2 separate regions of the Homo sapiens genome follow, and region 1 is linked to region 2. The links are contacts of gene promoters, found by promoter capture Hi-C in human tissues and cell types (Jung and others, 2019). All regions are on one chromosome and are shown on one strand. Each heading gives the region's core, a stretch centred on a gene start or on the middle of the fragment in contact. The rest is flanking DNA. Distances are from core to core; before and after follow the strand shown. Region 1 overlaps CERKL (CERK like autophagy regulator). Region 2 holds the start of NEUROD1 (neuronal differentiation 1).

Region 1 (4,924 bases), core at 2,335-4,834, 41 kb before region 2:
TGACTTTTTACACTCCAATAATGCAGAAATATTATGAATGTATAAAGATTACATTATTTACTAACATCTAATGAATAATGTTTTCTGAAAATAGAGCGCTTTAAACTATGATTATTTTTAAGTAGCCTCTACTCTAATAAGAAACAGGATACACAAGGAAAGAGCCTAGGGCTCATAGGAAATACAGATCTTAGGCTTAAAAGGGTTCAACTTACAGTCCTTCAGGAGCAATTTCTCCAGTTTGTGTACTTTTCAAGCTACTTCCCTTCTGTTTACATATTTTGCTAGTCACTAGCACATTTGATGCTAAGATTTGGTAGAATATATTTCAAATAAGATGCTTCTCATTCTGCTGATTTAAAAACGAATTTGCGCAGCGTCTACTATCTATCCCACTGCCCAAGCTAGAAATCTCACCATCACCATTATTTATTTCCCTTTTAAGCCTCACATCCCCCAAATTTTGTCTTTGACAATATCCCTTGCATCCAGGCTTACCTTGCCATTCTCCCAGCTTTGCAGCCACTGCCCCCTGATCTGCTGGATCAGCCATCACACTGGGCTCCTCAGTGTGGAGCCCATTTATAATCTATCCTGCTACCTAATTTACCAAAAAAAAAAACAGAAATACTTGATCTCACCTAATGCCCAGCCTTTGTCACACCTTCCTCAATTTTCAGGTTGAGACGCCAACTTCCTTGCATGCTATTCAAAGTCCTGTATAAACTACTGACTAAAAACAAAGCACTGTCATCTCCCCCATAAATAAGACAATGTTATTTTCCAAATAGGCCAAAGCATCCTTTTCTGGAGATTTTTCAAAATTTTCTTTTTCTAGAATGGTTTCCTTGCTCCTTTGTCTGTCTTGCTAACTCCAAATCATACTTCAAGGCCCACATTAAAGTTTACCCTCGAACCTCTCTGTAGCTTTTCCTGACTTCCCCCTCAGCCCGCCCAACAGAGAATGATTTTCTCCTTTACCTATTTTTCCATGTGCATTTATAATGCTCTGTAAGTACTAAGTTGCACACAAAATAGATCATGTAGTTATTCTTTTGTCAATATATCTTCCTGAAGATTGTGAATATCTGAAGACAGAAATCATGTCAAATTGATTACAGAATCCTGGAACCTTCTAGAGACCCCATAATTGGTGCTCCCTAAATGTTAGGAGGACTACAGTAAAAACATGAATGATTTAACAAGAAAAATGCAAATTTAAACTATGCTGAGATATCATTTATTATGTATCAGGCTGTTTTTTTAAAGTTTGGCAATAAACTCTTCTGGAGAAATTTTCAGGAAATACATGCCCTTATACAATAATGATTTTAAAAAGCAAAATTGCACAACCCTTTTGAAAGAATTTGGTAATATTGAGCAAAATTATTAACACATTTATTCTTTGACTCAACAATCTCACTTCTAGGCATCTATCCTAAAAGCACATTGAAAAACAAAAAACGGAAAGTAAAGTTTTTTATTAAACCACTATTTGCGATAACAAAAATGACTAGAAACAATCCAAATTTCTCCAACAGAGAGGTCAATAAACGATAGTACATAATGGATTTTGATGCTGATGTAAAGCGCTACAGAGTGAACTTCTGGGCATATTGCTAAGTAAGAAAGAAATCAAGGTAGAAAAACACATATATTGTACATGTGTTTAAGACGGTGGGTACTGTGGGGGTAATGAAAAGAATATATGCACATGTTTATTTATATAAAATAAAAGAACAACCCAGAGCTTTGAGGAACAAATAAGCTTTCCTACCTACAGGAAGGAAGGAAAAGCATAGAAGGGAAACATAAAAGCTATACTTCCTAGAATATAGTTTGTTTAGTAGATTTGATTTTGGAACCATATAAGTATTTCACGTAATTATAAAATTGATTTTTAAAAAAGAAATGCCTAAACATCAAAAGCAAAATGAAACAATAATACAAAAAACAAATAAGTTGGGGGTATAACTTCACAGATATGAATTATTCCAAGTGTCTTTAAAACATAGTAATTTGACTACACCTCCCTAGTAGTGTACACTCTATGAACAAAAAAAAAAATTGCAGGACTATCTTAAGTGGGTTTCAGTAATTATACTTTTGATTGGCAGCATTGGTGTTGTTACTCTATTGTGTCTACATAATGCAGGATAAAGCAAATGAGTAATGATGTTGTTATAGTTAGGAATCAGGACTTTAAGGGTAGGAGAAAAGAGACAATGTGAAAAGCTTAGGCCTGCACTTGAATTGGAAGTATCAGCATAATCCTATGATACATTTTTTCTTTAAAAACAAAACAAAAAAACCCAACATATTTTCTAGCTCTGTTCTTTGAAAAACCTAAGTAACAAGGTACACATAGGGGAAGTTTTAGCAATGATGTTGCTTAGTTCTCAAATTGAGGTCTCTAATACCACTATCCAGTAAAAGGAACCAGGACCCTCTGATGATGAGCTTGATTCCATATCTCAAGCATGAAATGTTCAAGATGAACCTGGAATATCTTGCCATTCCAGAAAGCAGGGAAGCTATCAGACAGCTGAGTGAATGTCAAAAGAACTCAGAAGTCAAGATGAAGGGGCTCCCATTGGTCTAAAAATCCAAAATGTGACAATTTGAAGATCAGTAAAAATAATCATTGCTGTGAATTGAAAAACATTTAATAGGTTTAAATCCTTGAGTTTATAGTGATCATAACAATAAAAAAACCTCATTGGTCATGGTGGATGCTAGGATCCATCTTTGAGGATGAACTTGCCATGCCATCCCAATGAGTGTAGTCATTATAATGGCCACCAGGGATTCGTACCCTCAAGCTCCACCTCAACTTCAGAGGAGTTGAGGTCCTACATTTCCAAGGCAGCCCACAGCCTGTGACAGCACAGCTGAAGTTTGGCCACTTTTGCCCAAGGCAGGACTCCTAATGGGCAATCTTTTTCCCAAGTCCTCACCCTAGGTAAGCAAAAATCTTGTGACATCTGATCATGGTCTGAGGCTCTCCCTTCCCCAACCTGCCTCATCCCCTTTACGGGTATCAGAGTGATGGCCATCCCAGTCTGAAGGTTATTCTTGCCCATGAGAAACTATAGGCCAAACTAGTTTGTTCAAAACATAAATTGAAAGGAAAAAAAAGGAAGAAGAATCTGTGGATGAGAAAATTTAAAAGGCATAGCCATCAGCTATAATATGGACCTCATTTCAAGGTTGACATATTTAAAAAATAGAGAAAATATCAGGAAAATCTGGACACTAACTGGATATGTAAAACTATAAAGATTATTTTAAATTTGAAGAGTAGTAATATGATTTTTTAGAAAATCTTTATCTCCTAGAGATACATGCTGAGATGCTTACAGATGAAATTATATGATGCCTAGGAATTACTTCAATCATTCCAGGGGAAGAAGGGATGTGGGTAGAGTATAGATGAAATAAGACTGGCCATAAATTGAAAACTGTTTAAACTCAGTAATGGGTCACATAGAGCTTCACCCCTCTTAGGGTTGAACATGAGGACTTATTACATAATTATTCCTACATTTGGGTATGTTTGGTGGTTTCCATAAAAAAAATTAGATTTAAAAAAACTTGTTAAAAACTCCAATTTATCACTCCCATTTTCTTCATTTGTTCAGAAACTGGAAGTGGCCAGAGAAATGGAATAAGCTGTTGATGATGGAACTGTCTTAAAAGCCTGAAAGAAGTCAGATAATGTTGTTTCAAAGGTTTTTATTATTTTGGTTCAGACCATGATGCTTTACTACCACCAACTCAGATGTCAGATAGACTCTTGCTTGCTTAACTGGGGAAGCAACATAACCAAATGGGGACAGTGCAGGCTCTGGAGTCAGACTGCCTAGCTTTGAACCCCAGCAACTGAAATTACTGGTATGACCTTGGGCAAGTTATTTAACACCTCTGGGCCCTAGGGATAAAAATTCTATCTAGACTACATAGTTTCTTTGCTAAGGTTAAACAAGATAAGATACTTAGCACAGAACCTGGCAGAGTAAACAAATCTAAGTGTTCACTATTTTCAGTCAAGCACTGGGCACTGCTGTGTAGCAGCAGTGGTAGTTTCCAGAACACTGTTTCTAATGAAAATCTAGGAATGTACATGGGAATTCCCTGATGCCAGCTGGTACATTATTTTAGACTTACCCTTAGGCTTAACATAAGTTCATAACACCATGCCAATGACAAAAACAAAAACGCTCACCAATGGTAACTATTTTTGGTGCCTATACCTTCCTGATTGCCTGTCTACCTCTGAATTCAGTCACCCATTACACTAAGTTTCCTCATATTCTGGTTTGCATGCCAAAAGTTTGCAAATGGTTTAATGTCCTTCAACTTCATGCCTCTCTCTCCTTTGTGTTTCTCCTCCTAGCTTATACCAATTTTGGCCAACACAAGAGCATTTAGAGTCATGGCTGAGAGTTCCTTCCTGTTGCTCACCACACCCACGTACACATGTAGACACACACAATCAAAACTCACCTGCTCAGCATATACTACCCCCGTCATTGGCATAGTGCTTCTAAAACTTGGGTAGGAATACGGTCAGAAGTCTGTGTTTAGGATTTTAATGATGCTTGTAGACTTGTCAATGTCTGAAATGTAATCTAATAACCCAATCAAGTGGCAGGCTAGGTGGGATAACAAGTGATATGGTTATGATCAGTATTCTAGTGCTGAGATTACACAACTGCAATGAATTTATCTACTACATCCCTGACCATTTCAACAAGGACGGTCCATTTTCTCAAATTACAGAGGGTACAAAAACATCCAGTCTAGGCAATAGCATCTTCCTGCATACCCAATTGCTCTGTTCTCTATATCCATTGCCCTGGTTCTCTATTCCTTTAGCTTTGCCATGTTTGGATTTCTGCAATTCACTTCAGAACTTCCTACT
Region 2 (5,579 bases), core at 2,697-5,196:
CAGTGGTACCAGCATCACATCTCAAACAGCACTTATTCTGGACTGCATTTTACATGCAATAGCTATTGTTCTAATTATGAATTAAATGGTTTGAATTTATTTAAGCTACTGTACTAATTGACTACTATAGATATAAATCCCAACATTAACAACCTGATTAGATTTAGGCTCAGATTTATTACATGAATATATGACAAACCACCATTTTTGTGACTATGTATAAAATCATGCATTTATATTTTCTGGAAACATCAATAGCTTCAGATTCTCTGTAAAATCATGGAATGCAAAGGAGTAAAAGACTAAAAAGTAACAGTGCAAATTGTATGTGATAGTCAAGCAGCTTTTGATTTAAAGAAGGGTATGTTGGCATTTATTTATAATATGTATATACAAGCTTGTGCAAGTAATGTGTTGAATTGATATGTTTTGATAGGGAATGTATCTCTTAATTTTTTCTTCTCTTGAAAATTATGATTCTGGTTTTTATTTTAGGGAGACGGAAAGACTTTAAAGTGAAATGAATTGCTCAAATTGTGCAATTTTTTTTTTTTTTTTTTTTTTTTTTTTTTTTTTACAATTGGAGAGGAAAGAAGTGCTAAGGCAACACAATAACTTTCTAAGCACTTTTCTGCTGGTTTAAATTAGTTAAATTATTTTGTATAAATTAGATATAATTCTACTTTTCTGATATGTATAAAAATTGATGAAGCTGCATGGTTTTAAAATAGGAAATCCACATTATAAAAAGTCATTAAAAATTCTGTACAAAATCACAACAAAATAATTCAGCATGGGAAAGGTAACAAGTAGTAAAATGCTGGTTGAAAAATATATATTTATATATATTTTAATTGGCCCATTACTAGTTTAAAAATTGCATAGATCCTAATTATTGCTTGTGATTTTGTTATCCCGATCAGATAATTAATACGATCTGAATACAGCCACACCAAATTCGTGGTGTATTTTTTAAACTTTACTGTATTTTTTTATTTTTTAAATAGAAGAGCTATAGAAAATAATACATAAGGTGAACAGGAACTTTGATCCCCTGTTTCTTCCAAAGGCAGTAATGACAATAAATACATATATCACTTGAAGCTTGGAGTATTTGCACTTTGCAGCAGTAGTACCCAAAGGGCTGCCTTTTGTAAACACGACAGTCACTGTAAGCACAGTGGGTTCGTTTCCCGGAAATGGTGAAACTGGCGTGCCTCTAATCATGAAATATGGCATTGAGCTGGGCACTCATGACTCGCTCATGATGTGAATGGCTATCGAAGGACATAATATTGTCTATGGGGATCTCGCAGCGAGGGGCAGCGGTGCCTGAGAAGATTGATCCGTGGCTTTGGGCCCCTGCCAGTGTCGCTGCAGGATAGTGCATGGTAAAGGCATAATTTTTCTCAAACTCGGCGGACGGTTCGTGTTTGAAAGAGAAGTTGCCATTGATGCTGAGCGGCGGGCTGAGGGGTCCATCAAAGGAAGGGCTGGTGCAATCAGTCAGAGGGCTTTCAAAGAAGGGCTCCAGCGCTGCGCTGTAGGCGTGCGGCGGAGGCTTAACGTGGAAGACATGGGAGCTGTCCATGGTACCGTAAGGCGGACTGGGCAGCCCAGGCGACTGGTAGGAGTAGGGGTGTACAGGGAAGGAAGCGCTGGCCGTCGGCAGGTGGGGGGGCATGTCCTGGTTCTGCTCAGGCAGAAAAGTCCGAGGATTGAGTTGCAGGCAGCCCGCAACCAGGTTGGTGGTGGGTTGGGATAAGCCCTTGCAAAGCGTCTGAACGAAGGAGACCAGGTCTGGGCTTTTGCCTGAGCGCAGGATCTCCGACAGAGCCCAGATGTAGTTCTTGGCCAAGCGCAGAGTCTCGATTTTGGACAGCTTCTGCGTCTTAGAATAGCAAGGCACCACCTTGCGCAGGTTGTCTAGCGCCGCGTTCAGTCCGTGCATGCGGTTCCGCTCCCGGGCGTTAGCCTTCATGCGTCTCAATTTAAAACGCTCCAGGCGAGCCTTAGTCATCTTCTTCTTTTTGGGGCCGCGTCTCTTGGGCTTTTGATCGTCATCCTCCTCTTCCTCTTCTTCCTCCTCTTCCAGGTCCTCATCTTCGTCCTCCTCCTCTCCCCCGTTCCTCAGTGAGTCCTCCTCTGCGTTCATGGTTTCGAGGTCGTCCTCCTTCTTGTCTGCCTCGTGCTCCTCGTCCTGAGAACTGAGACACTCGTCTGTCCAGCTTGGAGGACCTTGGGGCTGAGGCTCGCCCATCAGCCCACTCTCGCTGTACGATTTGGTCATGTTTCGATTTCCTACATTCAACAAGGGAGAGGCAAACAGAAAGAAAAGCAGAAAAACGCTATATTCAAAAGCCAGATACGCCTTCAGCTTCCACTCCCTAAACCTGTACAAATGCTTGCGAAAAGTACCTGCCCATTACAAAATGAATGCCTCTGAGAAAAAGTTAAATGCAGTGTTTTATAATGGCGCGTGCGTGTGCCCCGCTAGTACGTAGGAGTGAGGACAGGACTGGGGGAGGGTAGTGAATATGTATATGTGTACACCACTCACGCATATGTGTTTGTATCCTAGTGATTAACTTAAATGTGTTTATGGTGGTTGCCCGACAGGATAATGTGTGTGGAAATGACTGTACATTTCAGCGACTTCATGTTTATCCAAATGTGTTCAAAGTTACTCACAACTCCATAAAAAAAAAAAAAAGCTGTAAAATCACACATTCTACTTCCATTTCTGTCCTGGCTTCCAGATACTTAGCGATTTAAGTTGAACAGCCATTGCGTAATTTACTAATACTGGCAGCGATTTTTAAGAAGATTACATCGACGGGATACTGAAAAGCAAATGCAGAAAGGAGGAAAAATAGTTTCCACCAAATTGTTTCACCATCAATGTAACATTTGGCAACAAAAGTGGACAGGGTCTTCCACCCCTCCCTCGCCTTTCTTTTCTTGCCTTCCATCTCTGGCCCACCGCTAAATTTCCACCTTGTACAAAAGCGCTAGCTGCAGGGCGAGGGCTGGGGGCGCGGCGCAGAGCGCTCTCCCACGCGCCGGGGATCAGGTGCGGAAGGCTCCTCTCTAATAAACAGCCCATTGAAAGGGCCGCCCGCTCTTTATTGGGGCTTTTCAAAGTTCGCCTCAAACCTCCCTTTAAAAGATTGAGTAATTATAATGGTCAGCGATTGGCAACCGCGAAGTTGCCGCTTCTAGTAAGGAAAATAAAAAGCCTTTAGTAAAACAACTGAATTTCTGGCTCCAGTAGTGGCTGCTGGGGACTTGGCCGCCTCTGGAGCGGTAACAGGTAGCAGGAGTGAGTCCCTCTCCCTTTCTCCACTTTCCCCCCTCTCAACTAAACTATCTCTGAACCTGATTTATTTTCCATGGTGTGAATACTCAAGGTATCCATGTCCCTTTCATTCACTGAAAACACAGCTTGACACTCCCAATGTGCGTAAAATACATGCACACAAAATATATATTGATAACATAGATTTTTTTTTCTTACTGTAAGAAGTGAGAAAGTGAAGTCATTATTGCTTTTGGGACTTTAAAATCAGCACTAGCAGATAATCATAGTTACCGTGCATTCTTTTAAAAAATCCAAGAAGCTCCTATGCTATCCACAAAAGAAACCCAAATTTTTAAAATTTAAATTAGAAAGCCTGCAGGGGGTACTTGAGTGACACGACTCATTATGTGTGAGTACTTATGGGCAATTATGGAGGGGGATGCTGGTCTCAATACACATACACACTCTCGCAAACGCACACATACAGAATATGTAGGTTCATCAGTCTTCAGTTATTGCTTCTATTCTGGGGCAAAAAAATGAAAGAACTGTAATTACCTTTGTTGTTAGTAGGTCCTGAGCAGTGATAGTCTCATAACCCTGGGGCCTCCGGACGCCGCGCCTCCTGCGTGGGCGAATTCCTCGTGTCGTGGCCGCGCGGGCGCTCAGGTTATATAGCCCAGTTAGTGATGCTAAGCGCGGGCGGGGCCGCTAGCTGAGGGGCTAGCAGGTCTATGCGCCTGACGCCTGCGCACGCGTCCAGGCTGTGCGCTCCCCGTTCTCCCCTCCTCCCCACTTCTCCCCACGCCTTGCTCGTCTCCCGCCCTCCTCCGACAACCGCTCCCCTCACCCTCCACCCCTACCCCCGCCCCTCCTCCTTCCTCCCCGGCATGCGCCATATGGTCTTCCCGGTCCAGCCAAGAGCCTGGAACCACGTGACCTGCCCATTTGTATGCCGCGGAGCGCTCCATTCCGGCCCCTTTGTGGCCAGAAGAAAGTGGCCCATCTGTCGCCAGTTAGAGACTCCGCGGACCTGTTTTTACCCGCAGGAGAGATTAACCCTTTCAGGCGGCAGAAGGGACGGGGATAGAGGGGGGAGGGGATTTGAGGGAAGGAAGGGAAAAGCTAATGTTAACTAGGTCTAGATCAGAGCGAGTGGCCTGCTTTCGCGCCGGAAGTAGGACAGAGGTGAAAGAGGCAGAAGCGGGGAGACTGAGGCACGCAGTGAAGAGTCCTCGCTCCTTTCGATTTCTTGTCCTGACACTGGCATCCAGAGCAGCATGACTCCTTGCCCTCTCTGAAAGGCCCATCCCTTGGCTTCTTCTCCTTGGCAGACGCTTTGATCATTGGCGCCAAAGGATGGCTTCTCCTAATCTCCGTCGGCCCCTCTAAGCAAACATATACGCCATATAAAAGCGGCTTCATCTGTAAACGCAGCGTTGAGATTAGTTCCCCAACCTCCCTAACCGGATCGTCCTCTCCCAGTTCCTTCAGTACAGAAAAGTTGTACCTGCCATTCTATCCCTACCATACGTGCAATTCTTCATGTCCTGACCTTCAGCTACGACTGTTCCTCCAGACCCTCTCACTACGTCAGTCCCCACCTCCATCCCCAGGATCTTGTCCTCAAAGCGAGCTAGTTCTCGCGAGGAGGCCTTGGTTCCATTGGCCTTTGCGCTCTCTTATGTGGGAGCTGGGGACTTCTTTGACGGTTGTATTCTGCCTTTTAACCATGGCCACTGGGTTGCTGGAAAGGGCACCCTCACTCAGCCAGTCCAGGGACGCTTCTGGTTCCCTGGCCAGCCCGCCCTGGACGGCCTCGGCTCTCTAGTCCAGGCATTGACCACAAGTACGGTGGTGGACACCTCGCCACAGCCGGACCTGCGCTCTTGCTCCCCTCAGTCTCGGGTCTGTATAAGATACTTGATTCAGACAAGCGTTTTCAAAGAGAAGATGCAATGGGCCTGTGCTGAACGGGTCTTTCCGATCTCTTTCTAGAAACGCCTTTAGCACAACCCCGGAAGGATTAATGGCTGCGAACTCCTCCAGACTTCAAAGCCTCTGATTTGAAACTCCCAACTTGAAGGTCAAGCAAAGACCACAGAAATTCTCGACCAGTTCTGAAGGAGCCATATTGTTGCCCAAATAGCAATTCTTTACTCTTTTCGAACAAGGGTTTTCCAGAATAATAGATTTTAAAAAGAAAGAAAGAAACTGGCCTGTCTACTCGTTCTTTCCCAGCTTTGCCTCTAATCCTTCATTAACTAACTCCTTACCC

The links. Contacts are between HindIII fragments. The study calls those that stand out against the background at their distance.
Region 1: a fragment that was not itself captured here is called in contact with the fragment with the promoter of NEUROD1 in region 2 in 1 of the 25 tissues and cell types used here (mesendoderm cells).

The regions. Positions count from the first base shown.
Region 1 is chr2:181,635,857-181,640,780 of GRCh38, forward strand. The region is part of intron 1 of CERKL (CERK like autophagy regulator); the gene reads right to left. Among named protein-coding and RNA genes, the nearest start is that of CERKL, 19 kb to the right of the region's middle. The HindIII fragment of the contact is 3,167 bases long and covers 2,002-4,924 here.
Region 2 is chr2:181,676,571-181,682,149 of GRCh38, forward strand. NEUROD1 (neuronal differentiation 1) reads right to left here and starts at 3,947. Exons shown (of 2, transcript NM_002500.5): 1 at 3,860-3,947; 2 at 1-2,301. The coding sequence starts at 2,290. The coding sequence ends at 1,220. RefSeq lists an enhancer at 4,597-5,173. The HindIII fragment of the contact is 10,799 bases long and covers 751-5,579 here.